Linked DNA regions of Homo sapiens: region 1 is linked to region 2. Evidence: promoter capture Hi-C in human tissues and cell types (Jung and others, 2019). All regions are on one chromosome and are shown on one strand. Each heading gives the region's core, a stretch centred on a gene start or on the middle of the fragment in contact. The rest is flanking DNA. Distances are from core to core; before and after follow the strand shown. Region 1 overlaps SGPL1 (sphingosine-1-phosphate lyase 1). Region 2 holds the start of SGPL1 (sphingosine-1-phosphate lyase 1).

Evidence for each region. Contacts are between HindIII fragments. The study calls those that stand out against the background at their distance.
Region 1: a contact is called between a fragment that was not itself captured here and the fragment with the promoter of SGPL1 in region 2, in 1 of the 25 tissues and cell types used here (bladder).

Annotation. Positions count from the first base shown.
Region 1 is chr10:70,873,799-70,879,585 of GRCh38, forward strand. SGPL1 (sphingosine-1-phosphate lyase 1) reads left to right here. Exons shown (of 15, transcript NM_003901.4): 13 at 1,604-1,750; 14 at 2,743-2,863; 15 at 3,397-5,787. The coding sequence ends at 3,537. Among named protein-coding and RNA genes, the nearest start is that of PCBD1, 12 kb to the right of the region's middle. The HindIII fragment of the contact is 9,714 bases long and covers 1-5,787 here.
Region 2 is chr10:70,812,640-70,818,517 of GRCh38, forward strand. SGPL1 (sphingosine-1-phosphate lyase 1) reads left to right here and starts at 3,309. Exons shown (of 15, transcript NM_003901.4): 1 at 3,309-3,487; 2 at 4,172-4,241. The coding sequence starts at 4,215. RefSeq lists silencers at 3,105-3,424, 3,445-3,534, 3,615-3,724. The HindIII fragment of the contact is 13,423 bases long and covers 1-5,878 here.

The DNA of each region.
Region 1 (5,787 bases), core at 5-2,504, 59 kb after region 2:
TTGAGACGGGGGCCTCATTTGTAGTTTATCTCATCTCTATGGATGTCTTAATAACTGGCAGCTCTTACCCTAAGGCTAATGTACAATTTAATGGTTAGGACAGTGATTCCCAAACTTGAGCATGCATTCTAATCACCTGAAGGACTTGTTAAAACACAGGTAGCTGGGCCCACCCCTAGAGTTTCTGATTCAGTGGAACTGGGATGGGCTCTAAAAATTTCCATTTCTGGAGATACTGATGCTACTGCTCCAGGAATCATACTTGAAGAATCATTGGAATAAGAAAATAATTGGAAATGGGCCAGAAGGAATGAGGAAAGGAGGGCAATGAAATCTTGGGTTAAGCCAAGGCCAGAACAGGCTGCATGCTTTGTCTAATGTATCTGTTAACATCTTATCTGCCCATCTCTCTATGTGTCACTTGGATTGGGGAGGCTCTTTAAGTATATTGAGGGGGAAGGAAAGCTGCCTGCAGGCATTTCTCATTTGAGAAAGATCCTTGGCCAGGCACGGTGGCTCCGGCCTGTAATCCCAGCACTTTGGGAGGCCAAGGCAAAAGGATCGCTTCAGCTCAGGAATTAAAGACCAACCGGAGCAACATAGTGAGACATTATCTCTACAACAAATTTAAAAATTAGCCATGAGGCCGGGCGCGGTGACTCATCCCTGTAATCCCAGCACTTTGGGAGGCTGAGGCGGGTGGATCACCTGAGGTCCAGAGTTCAAGACCAGCCTGACCAACAGGGAGAACCCCGTCTCTACTAAAAATACAAAATTAGCCGGGCGTGGTGGCGCATGCCTGTAATCCCAGCTACTCAGGAGGCTGAGGCAGGAGAATTGCTTGAACCCGGGAGGCAGAGGTTGCGGTGAGTTGAGATGGCACCATTGCACTCAAGCCTGGGCAACAAGAACGAAACTCCATCTCAAAAATAAAAAATAAATAAAAATAAAAATTAGCCACATGTGGTGGTGTGCACCTTTGGTCCCAGCTACACAGGAGGCTTAAGGCAAGAGGACTGCTTGAACAGCCCAGGAATTTGAGGTTACAGTGAGCTATGATCACACCACTGCACTCTAGCCTGGGTGACAGAGCAAGACCCTGTCTCAAATAAATAAGCAAACAAATAAATAAAAATTAGATATATATAAAAGGTCCTCCTATAGCTCTGATAGGGCCATTTATTAAGACCTGCTATACCATTTCTTGCTTTAGGGATTACATATGACTTTTTAGAACTGTGGAGATGGGCAGATTACTTTTCCAGAAATTTTTTTAGTACATCTTTCATGCCTCAGAAGCATCTAGGGGAATATAATTGGGAGTTGGGTAGACAGGTTCGAAGTCAGTGATTGAGTCATTAGATCTAGATGGGGTTTGGGCCTTGGAATTCCATTTTTATTGTTCCATCTATGATTCTGATCTCAGTAAGAACCACTGATCCAGTGTAGCCCTCTTCTTTTTTGAAGATGAGAAGACTAAAGCCCAAAGGGTTAGATTGCATTCATTATAAGGAAGACTTTGAATGATTAAAGAGATAGTGACCAGGGGATTGTATGTGACTGAATTTACTTTTTCTTCCTTCATTTATTTTTTTGTTTTAAGACTGGAAAATATCAAAGGCATCTTTGTTTTTGGGAATCCCCAATTGTCAGTCATTGCTCTGGGATCCCGTGATTTTGACATCTACCGACTATCAAACCTGATGACTGCTAAGGGGTGGAACTTGAACCAGTTGCAGTTCCCACCCAGGTAAGCTTGAAGAAGCCTCTTTCCCTTATTTTGCTCCATGATTTTGGAAGAACTTGGGTGGTACAGTAACCTGAAGTATAGAGTTTGACTGCTAGAGGCTAGCACGTTAGTAGCAACTGTAGTATATAAAGGATTTCTCTCTTGCCACCTGGAATTATTAGATACAAAGAACAAGACCATTAGCTTTAAACTCTGGCAGAATTAGGTGACAGCCTCCTAGACCAGTGGTTGGTCATGAGGTTTTTCTCTCAGTCTCTAGCCTTTCTACTCTCCAATCCATCTTGTACACAGCCATCAAATTGCTCTTATAAAATACTTGTTACCTGGCTAATATTTAGTTCAAGATCTTCCTGGGGGTCTCTAATCATTCAGGCCTGCTACTGCCTTCTTTATTAGACTTTTCTAACCTAATCTTCCATGATGCCTTTGAGTAAATGCACCACTCCAACTGAGTACAGGTCTGTTCATGTCCTCTGTGTACAGCTTAGCCTTCCACACGTTGGTGCATTGCCAGTCCCATCTGGACTATCTTTTTCCCTCTTCACAATTCCAGTAAACCCCACTAAATTCCTCCAGGGCGAGGTAGAATTTCTTCTGTGCCCTGAAGTCCTTTAAGACCCCAGCCATGTGGCCCTGTCCCCATGAGAGCACATGGGGGCTGATTATCTAAGATAAAAGTGTCTCATTGATGGTGACGTGGTTGAAGGAATGGTGGTGGAATTTGTGAGGGGATGGGTGGGACAAAGCAGCCAACACTGTTCATCCTCTTAGCATGGTTCTCAGTCATGCCGAGAAGCTCTGAGGCCAGCCCATGCCTGACACCCCAAGCATGAGAGAGCCGAGATTCCCAGGACTAGGAACAACTTGGATGACTACACTTGTCAGAAATATTGTGAAAGGGCAACCAGGAAATTCCCGTATTTGGGGCTGCATCATTTTAGAACATTTTTTCTTTCTTCAAGGTTCATCTCTCTCTGTCTCTTCTTTCCTAGTATTCATTTCTGCATCACATTACTACACGCCCGGAAACGAGTAGCTATACAATTCCTAAAGGACATTCGAGAATCTGTCACTCAAATCATGAAGAATCCTAAAGCGAAGACCACAGGAATGGTAGGGACACTTGGAGTTTTTTTTCTTCTCTTGGAAATTTAGGTGTTGGTGGAGAGTTTGAAGGAATCATATGACCCGGAGTCTGTTCCTGCCTCTGCCCCTTTGCCACAGACATCTTTTATTTGTTGACTGGAGCTGATGATCTCTGCATCACCCACCCCTTAGGGTTGCTGAAGTCTCAAATGAGATACACTATAAAGTACCTTGTAAGTTAGAGACTTCTGTATAAAAGCAGCTGGTGGTAGTGTCCATTTGAAAAGAAAATTTTGTCACAGGAAAGATAGTAAACATGTTTTTTCTGGAATTTTCTTAGGCTAGTCCCTTTATGCAGAAAGGCAGACTGGAAAGTCCCTGTGAAAAATTGACTATGCCAGCTGTTTTTCTGATAGAATGATGGGATGCCTTAGGTGGAAATGGGGTAGGGCAGTGCACATGCGAAGCTAGGACTCGGGGAGAAGGGGCTCATTGCTGCAGTTTTATTCTTGCTTTTGGACCTGGCCTCACTAATAATGTCTCTTTCTTTGGATTTGTAGGGTGCCATCTATGGCATGGCCCAGACAACTGTTGACAGGAATATGGTTGCAGAATTGTCCTCAGTCTTCTTGGACAGCTTGTACAGCACCGACACTGTCACCCAGGGCAGCCAGATGAATGGTTCTCCAAAACCCCACTGAACTTGGACCCTTTCTAGTCTCAAGGGGATTCCAGCCTTCAGAAGGTTCTTGGGATATGGAACAGGCCGTGCACAACTTTGACATCTGGTCTTGCTCCATAGAGCACAACTCAAGATAGACCATGAGACAGCTTGAGCCTCAGGATTCTTGTTCTTCCTCTTATCTTCCTTTTGTGGTTTTTAATTTGAAGACCCCAGAGAATTCCATTACATAATGATTTTGCCCTTGTTATAAATGTTACCCTAGGAATTGTTTTAACCATTTCCTTTTCTAAACTCTCTAGCTTTCAACTTTACTTAAACATTGTGTGGTAGCTCTGACCTGTCCTGATTCTTTAGAGAAGCTGGGGTACAGTTTATGAGATAGCTAGAGCTTCTTTGTTATCTCAGGCAGGAGGCGTTTACATAACAGATGTTTCCTCAGCTGGGTGTGAGGTATACTCTAAGCAGGAGGCTTTTTCAGCCTTCTCTCTCTTTTTTTTTTTTTTTTTTTTTTTTGAGATGGAATTTTGCTCTTTTGCCCAGTCTGGAGTGCAGTGGCATGATCTCAGCTCACTGCAACCTCCACCCACTGGGTTCAAGCGATTCTTCTGCCTCAGCCTCCCGAGTAGCTGGGATTACCGGCACCCACCACCACGCCTGGCTAATTTTTCAATTTTCTTTTTCAGTAGAGACGGGTTCACCGTGTTGGCCAGGCTGGTCTTGAACTCCTGACCTCAGGTGATACCCGCCCCCCCGCCTCAGCCTCCCAAAGTGCTGGGATTACAGGCGTGAGCCACCGTGCCTGGCCCTGTCTCTCTTAAGAGTAGGTTCATTGTCTGTCTTAGAGTCACTTCTATTGCAACTCATTTTCTTTTTCCAGGGCACAGATCGACCAAGCTGCCGTTCCCTATTCTGCAGGACAGGACTATTCTAGCATACCTGCTTCGTCCACCCAGGCAGGGTTTGGGGTGGTCTCTTCTGTGCCTGCAGTCCCCATTTGACACTTGGTTGCCACCATCTTTGGAGATTATTGTTTGGAATGATGCTTCCATTGGCTTTTTCTTGTTACCATGGACTAGGAAGAAAACATGGTTTCCAAATAATCTGGGAGCTTTTGGCCATGGTGCCGCCTTCCTGAATTGGCAGTGGTCAGAGCACACCTGAACCCTATCCTGGGCTGGTGATGAGCAGAAATCAGACCTTTTTCTATGCTTTTTTGAATATCAGAGTAGGATGAACACCCAGATTCAAATATGTCACCAAAGTTGGTGGTGGTCCTTCCCTGCACCCTTGCGTTAAGCCATTATGTAATGAAAATGTGTTTGCTTGAAGGAACAGCTCAAAGCACCTTCACAAGTTGCCTTGACTTACCCTAGGTGGGTGTGAAAGAGCACCCGTAGCAAGGAAAATTTTCTCTATTAGTGTGTTCTTCTGCCTCTTCCCCCTTGATTCAGCTTTCAGAGGTACTATGGCAGTTTTGCCTCAGGTGCTGAACATTTCTCAGCCCTGGCTAAAAGGGAGCAGCACAGGGAGAGAAACAGGATAGGAAAGCAGAATGGCGAGCAGCCTATGGCCCAGGGCCTGTAATCCCTTCCCAAGACTAGCTGCTCAGGGTGGTGCAGGGACAGGACCAGACCCTGCGCCTATTTCCTGCCTTCTTTCCCCTATAGGGAACTCTGTAGGCTGAGCCACTGTCCTGCTCTTATGACATTATATCTTGTGCCTTTCTCCTCAGCAGTGAGCAGTGAGCTACTCCTGGCCCAGGCCCTAGGGGAAATGGATCAGTCTTTGAGGTTTCTATTTGGGGAGGGGAGTACTTAAGATGAGTCAAAAGACACTTTCCTCTGTTCCATTCCCCATCTCAGGGACTCCTGAATATTCAGCCTCTCCAGGCTGGTGTCTTCTAGTTTCCCCCACTGGGAATGCTGGCTGGGAGAGCCATGACTACCAGACTTTTCCTCAGGCTCCTTGGCATGTTAGTCTGAATTGTTCTTGAGCACTGTACTACTGACCCAACAACTGTGACTAGCTGGCCACGCCATTCAGGGCTGGTGTGGCATTTATGTGTGTGTGTGTGTGTGTGTGTGTTTTTCCTGTTTGCCCAGCAGTGCATTGTGGGTTCCAAGAGTGGGTAGTGTGTGTATGTGTGTGTGTCAGAGGGAGACCTGGCAGGCACCTCTTTGAGAGTAGCTGTGGTCAGAGCTGTTTGGTCAGTGCATTATGTTGAATGAGGTCCAGGAACCCAGAGCCACCCAGCAGACACCACTGT
Region 2 (5,878 bases), core at 2,059-4,558:
CTCCAGTTGGCAATGTCGGGGCATTTGGTCCCTGCTGTGGGGGCTCCCATGTCTGTCTGGCCCTTGGCCTCTCCTCCCCTGGTGGCCAGCTCTGCTGTGATCAGCTGAGCCTGCTGCTGGAGCTATGTGCTGGTTTCCTGCCTCTTCTTGGGCATTCTGGGCTCTAGGAACTGTTTGTTGGTTTCCTGTGGGCCATTCCTTTCCAGGATGGGCCTAGAGGCTGCAACCCTCCTAAGATCTGCCCACACCCCTGTCCTGAGGTGAGCTTCTCAAGAAGGTCCCCGGCTGAGCAAGGGGTGTCAGGAGCAAGAATGGAGGCAGGAGAGTGTGTGCGCCTGCTTTTTAGAGTGGGAGTGTGCACTCATGCATGAGTGGGAGGCTGTCATTAACTTGGCCATGGATGGCTGCCATTTTAAGCAGAACCAGATTTGCTGGCATGAATTGTTTAAATGATGGCAGGCACAAGCACTGCAGGGAGATCCTCCTAGCCTAAATTAAAGAAGCCACAGAGGGAAAAAATCCCAGACCATCTTGCTCCACACCTCCCTCCCCCGTCCCAAGCCTTCCGTCATCTGCGGGAATTTCAGTGCCTCACTGACACCTGAATGACAATCTTTTGTCATCCTGGAAGGCACCATGATGGTACCAAAGGACAACTGGGGAGCATTGGTTCCCTCCCCAGCCCCAAACAAACACGTTCTTCATCAGCCTCCTTAAGCCATCCCAAACAACCCACACGCTTAATACAACTATCGTGCCTTCTATCCGGGCAAAGTGCCATGTGTCTGTAGACACAGCTACTCAGGAGGCTGAGACAGGAGGATCGCTCGAGCCCAGGAGTTTGAGGCTGTAGTGAGCTATGATAATGGCTGTAAATAGCCACTACACTCCAGCCTGGGCAACATTATTGAGACCATGTTTCTAAATAAGCAAACAAAAATTGTGCTTTCTCTGCAAACAGAGTGTCTAGGGAAGTGCTTTTTACTTTCTTGTGCATTAAGATCATCTGGGGACCTTGTTAAGCTGTAGATTCTGATTCAGGAGGTCTGGAGTGGGGCCCCAAGAACCTGTATTTATAACAAGCTCTCAGGTAAAGCCAATGCTGCTCTCAGGGAAACCACACTTTCAGAATGGAAGTTCCAGATAGCCCTCCTCTGCCTCTGACCAGCCAGCTATGTGCCTGCTAACGTCATTCTGCTGTCAGAGGGAGTGTGGGGTAGGAGAGCAGGGTGGTCTGAAGTCTTTCTCTCTCTCTTTCTCTCTCTCTCTCTCTCTCACACACACACACACACACACACACACACACACACACACACACACAGGGCTTCATCGGCTCAGAGAGTTGCAAACCCAGACCCATGTTCTAGGCTGGGCTCTGCCAGGAACTGCTAGGAGTCGCATCTCTCTCTGGACCTCAGTTTCTTCACGTGTATTTGTGTATTCTCTGGGGTGGAGCTGGCGAATAGCTGGAGACCCCTCTAGCCCTACCATTTTTTGATTCTAATTAACCAAAAAGGATATTCGAGGTCCCCGCTACAAATTCTGAACCCTTGGCTTCCCCTCCAAACTCCCACACAAACTCCACCCCATCCTGCCTGTGTGTCTTTGGGAGGATCATTTCCTTCTTTGGTCTTGGTGTCCTTGTTTACAGGTTGAGGGATGATAAGAGTCACCTGATCTGGGCAAGTCAGGCCATAAATAAGGCTTGTATGTAAAGGTGCCTAGCATAGTTCTTGGCAAAGCAAGGATCAGTCGATATGATTGCATTGGTTTGAGCATCTGGGAAGAATGAGCAGACTGCATACTGTGTGTTAGGGTGTAGGGAGGAATCAGACGTGACCCTGCCCTCTAGTCATCTGGGTGCACAGATTCTAGATTAAAGGATGTGGGGGTGGTAACTAACAAGGAGATGGAGAGGAGGTGTGCAGTTCCTGGGGGATCTGATGAAGAATTAAAGCAGAAGGGTAGGAGATGGAGAATGGGAAGGCATACCTGAAACCCTAAAGCAACTCTTGATGAGTAGGCATTGGCAGGAGGCCCCAGAACATTTTCTGACCCTCAAACACTGAGAATGCATGTCTGCTGGGGAATAGTAGTGAGGGGGCTAAGGGTATGGGGGTGTTCATGCCTGAGTCAGGGGCTCTGGATGGTAGAAATGTCTGGGAGTTCTGACGGAATGGGGGTGAGGAGGCCTAAAGATAACCTGTTCATAGTCTTTCAGGGCCTTAACCATTATGGCTGGGGAAGTGGGAAGTGCCGATGGGGTATGCAGAGGAGGGCAGCTGTGATAGTACATTTCATCCTGAAAGCACTACATGTGGATAATGACGGTAGTGATGATGCCCTAATTTTAGTGTCATGGCAACATTTTCCAAGGGGATGGAATTGGGTACCCTCATTAGTGTCATTTTTGTTTGAGAGATTTCAAGAGTCTATCTAGGTGTCATTTTAAAATCTATTGAAAAAAAATCTTGAATGCAGGTCACTGACCAGTTGGTTCCATGTAACTGCACTGCCTTCTGCTACCACTAAAGCAATGTTATGACAACCTGGACAAGTCATGGGAAACCTATGTGAGACTTAGTTTTTTCTTTTTCTTTTTGGAGTTGGGGGTCTCACTATGTTGCTCAGGCTGATCTAGAGCTCCTGGGCTCAGACAACCCTCCCGCCTCAGCATCCCCAAGTGCCGGGATTACCGATGTAAGCCACTACACCCAGCTGAGACTTAGTTTTTTCATCTGGAAATGAAGGCGACCTTTGTGATCCCAGTGGGCCCTTGCACTTGTGTATAAGGTGATTCCCAGCACTGCTCATGAAAGTAGTGATGGCAGAGTAGCCTCTGCTCTCCATTTTATTTTTGGGGTGGGGGGGGGCAGTGGTGGAGGGGAGGATGAGGATGATATTTCCATTAAATAAGTTTCCTTGTTGCTTTTCTTCAGGCACCACTGACCTCGATGGAAAAATGAAGTCCCTGGCCCAGGAAAGAGACCCAACTCTGTGGCTGTTTTGGATTAGTTTGTACAATGCCCTGCAGACCTACTCTCTCAGGAGGCTCCAAGTGACCAAATGTGACAAGAAAGTTTTTTGTCCAAGGCAGTTTGGAAGAGAAGTTGGTGACCGTCGGGATACCACAGCCGCCCCAGGACGGCCTGGTTGAGACATTCACTGGAGGGTCTGGGTGCAGCCCGCTGCCTGGCCGGTAGGCGGCGCGCACAGGCCGTGGGGCCCGGGTCTGGGCGTGCGCGCGGCTGGTAGCAGCGGGGCCGCGCACGCCAGGGTCCGGGAGCCGGGCCGGTGCCCCCGGAGCCATTTCCGGGAGGGGCGAGGCCGGCGGCTGCCGGGCCTCCAATCTCGGCGGCGGCGGCGGCAACAGGGGAGCCTGGGTCTCGCGGCCTGCGAGTCCGTCGCGTGCTGAGGGAGACGCAGGAGGTGGAGCCGGCCGGGTGCTCGAGGGAAGGAGACTGGAAGCTGGTTCCGGCGTGAGGAGGTGGAGGGGCCGCCGCGGGCTCCGGGGGGCGGTGAGGGTCGGGACGGAGGCGCCGCGGGGTGAGGAGAGGACAGGGGCCGGGTGGGCCGAGGGCGGGCAGAGGCGGCGGGGCGGCTGCGGCCGGGGCGGGGGCGGGGGCGGGCTGAAGGCGTGGGCACCAGCCGCTGAGGTCCAAGCAAGTGGACGGCGGGCGGGCGCGGGGCCGCGGTGGGGCGGGTCTGGAGCCCACGCCTGCCGCGGGGTAGGCATGGGCGGCCAGGATTTGCTGGTCCTCCGACGGGAGGGGTGACAACGAGAGCGAGGCCGTGCTGATTCTGAAGGGAGTGCGGAGGAGGCAGGACCCTGGTAGCCTCGGCACCTTCAGCCCGGGTTAGGTGGCCTGGGCTGGGCTCCCCACCCCGATCGCGCGCAGACGGGGCGTTTCCCCTAGTTTCCACCTGGGTGGAATGCTTTGTGGGAGTCTGGGTCTGGATTAGTTTCATCAGCTGTGGGAGGGAAACCTAGTTGCAGCAGGATTTTGATTCGCTGGTCTGGGGTGCTAGGGGTGGACTGTGATATCTGGGAATGAAATCTGAGCCTTCAAAGGAGGGAGAGAACCATAACTTGGCTGCTCTGGCGAATCTAGGCGGGCTGGCGAGACAGTTTAAAGCTCTAGAAGTAAACAAACCTGGTTCCCTTTTACAGAGTCTGAAAAAGGGGAGCGCGGAGAGGAGGCTGGAAGAGGAAGATGCCTAGCACAGACCTTCTGATGTTGGTGAGCCTTTTGCAGACATCCTCCTGGTTCCAAGGCATTTGTCTCCGTTTTTTTAGTCCAAAGGATCCCAGTGTGTAGATTTCACCTCTGATGCTTGCTTTTGGTAGCTGAGCGTTTTGCCACCTTTTATTTTGTTTTGTTTTGTTTTGTTTTTTTGGAGACGGAGTCTCACTCTGTTGCCCAGACTGGGGTGCAGTGGCATGATCTCGGCTCACCGCCACCTCTGCCTCCTGGGTTCAAGCGATTCTCCTGCCTCAGCCTCCTGAGTAGCTGGGATTACAGGCGCACGCCACCACGCCCGGCTAATTTTTGTATTTTTAGTAGAGACGGGGTTCTCCATGTTGGCCAGGCTGGCCTTGAACTCCTGACCTGTGGTGATCCACCCGCCTTGGCCTCCCGAAGTGCTGGGATTCCAGGCGTGAGCCACCGCGCCTGGCCAACCACCTTTTATTTTGGATGAATGATCAGGATGAATAAATAGCTGAATTAAATACATCAATACAGTATATGTAGAACTTAAATTATTGAAGAATCTTTTTCAAAATTATTATTATTTTTTTTAAATGAGACAAGGTCTTGCTATGTTCCTCAGACCGGAGTGCAGTGGCTATTTACAGGCATAATCATAGCTCACTGTAGCCTGGAACTCCCACTTCAAGTGATCCTCTTGCTTCAGCCTCTGGAGTAGCTAGGACTAGGAGCACAGGTCACCTCTCCTGGCTTTCTTTTTCATAATTCTTGCAGTTTTAATCCCTCCCTTCCCGTACTACCAGAGCAGTTTTGAAACCTCTATTATTACGTTTTATCAGGGTCTGCCATATACTAGTTTATCTGAGTGTTTGTCTTCCAGATTAGAGTTATGGTTCCTCGACAGGCAGATAATCATGTCTTCTTTGTTTAGAGATGAATAAACACCTAGCATGGTGCTCTGAATATAGTATGTGCTTAACAAATGCTTGTTGGATTGAACCAGTATGAATTTAAGTTCTTTTGTTGGACAGAGAGGTATGCCTGCTTTAGAGCTGTTTCCTCTCCTCCTGAGATCTTTCTGTGCTGTTTTACTGAGCAGGGAAGAATAGCGTTGCTAAATGCATGTTTACCAAAATGACATTTTATTTTTGGGACTTTTATGATTCCTTATGGACTTCTTAGTGTGAGAATTATGGAGAGTTTATAGCTTTGAAATGGTGGTATAGAAAAAGTGTCCGGGTTTAGTTTTTTTTGTTTCGTTTTGTTTTGTTTTGTTTGTTTGTTTTTGAGATGGAGTTTAGCTCTTGTCTCCCAGGCTGGAGTGCAATGGCACAATCTCAGCTCATTGCAACCTTTGCCTCCCGGGTTCAAGCGATTCTCCTGCCTCAGCCTCCCGGGTAGCTGGGATTATAGGTGCACACCACCATGCCTGGGTAATTTTTGTTTTTTAATAGAGATGGGGTTTCGCCGTGTTAGCCAGGCTGGTCTCAAACTCCTAACCTCAGGTGATCCACCTGCCTTGGTCTCCCAAAGTGCTGGGATTACTTACAGGCGTGAGCCGCCGTGTCCAGCCAAGTTTGTTTGTTTGTTTGTTTTTGTCACTTCTCTGAGTGCAAAATCAGTGCTTTAAAAACAATTCATTTCTCTCTCTTTATCTCACTATCCCA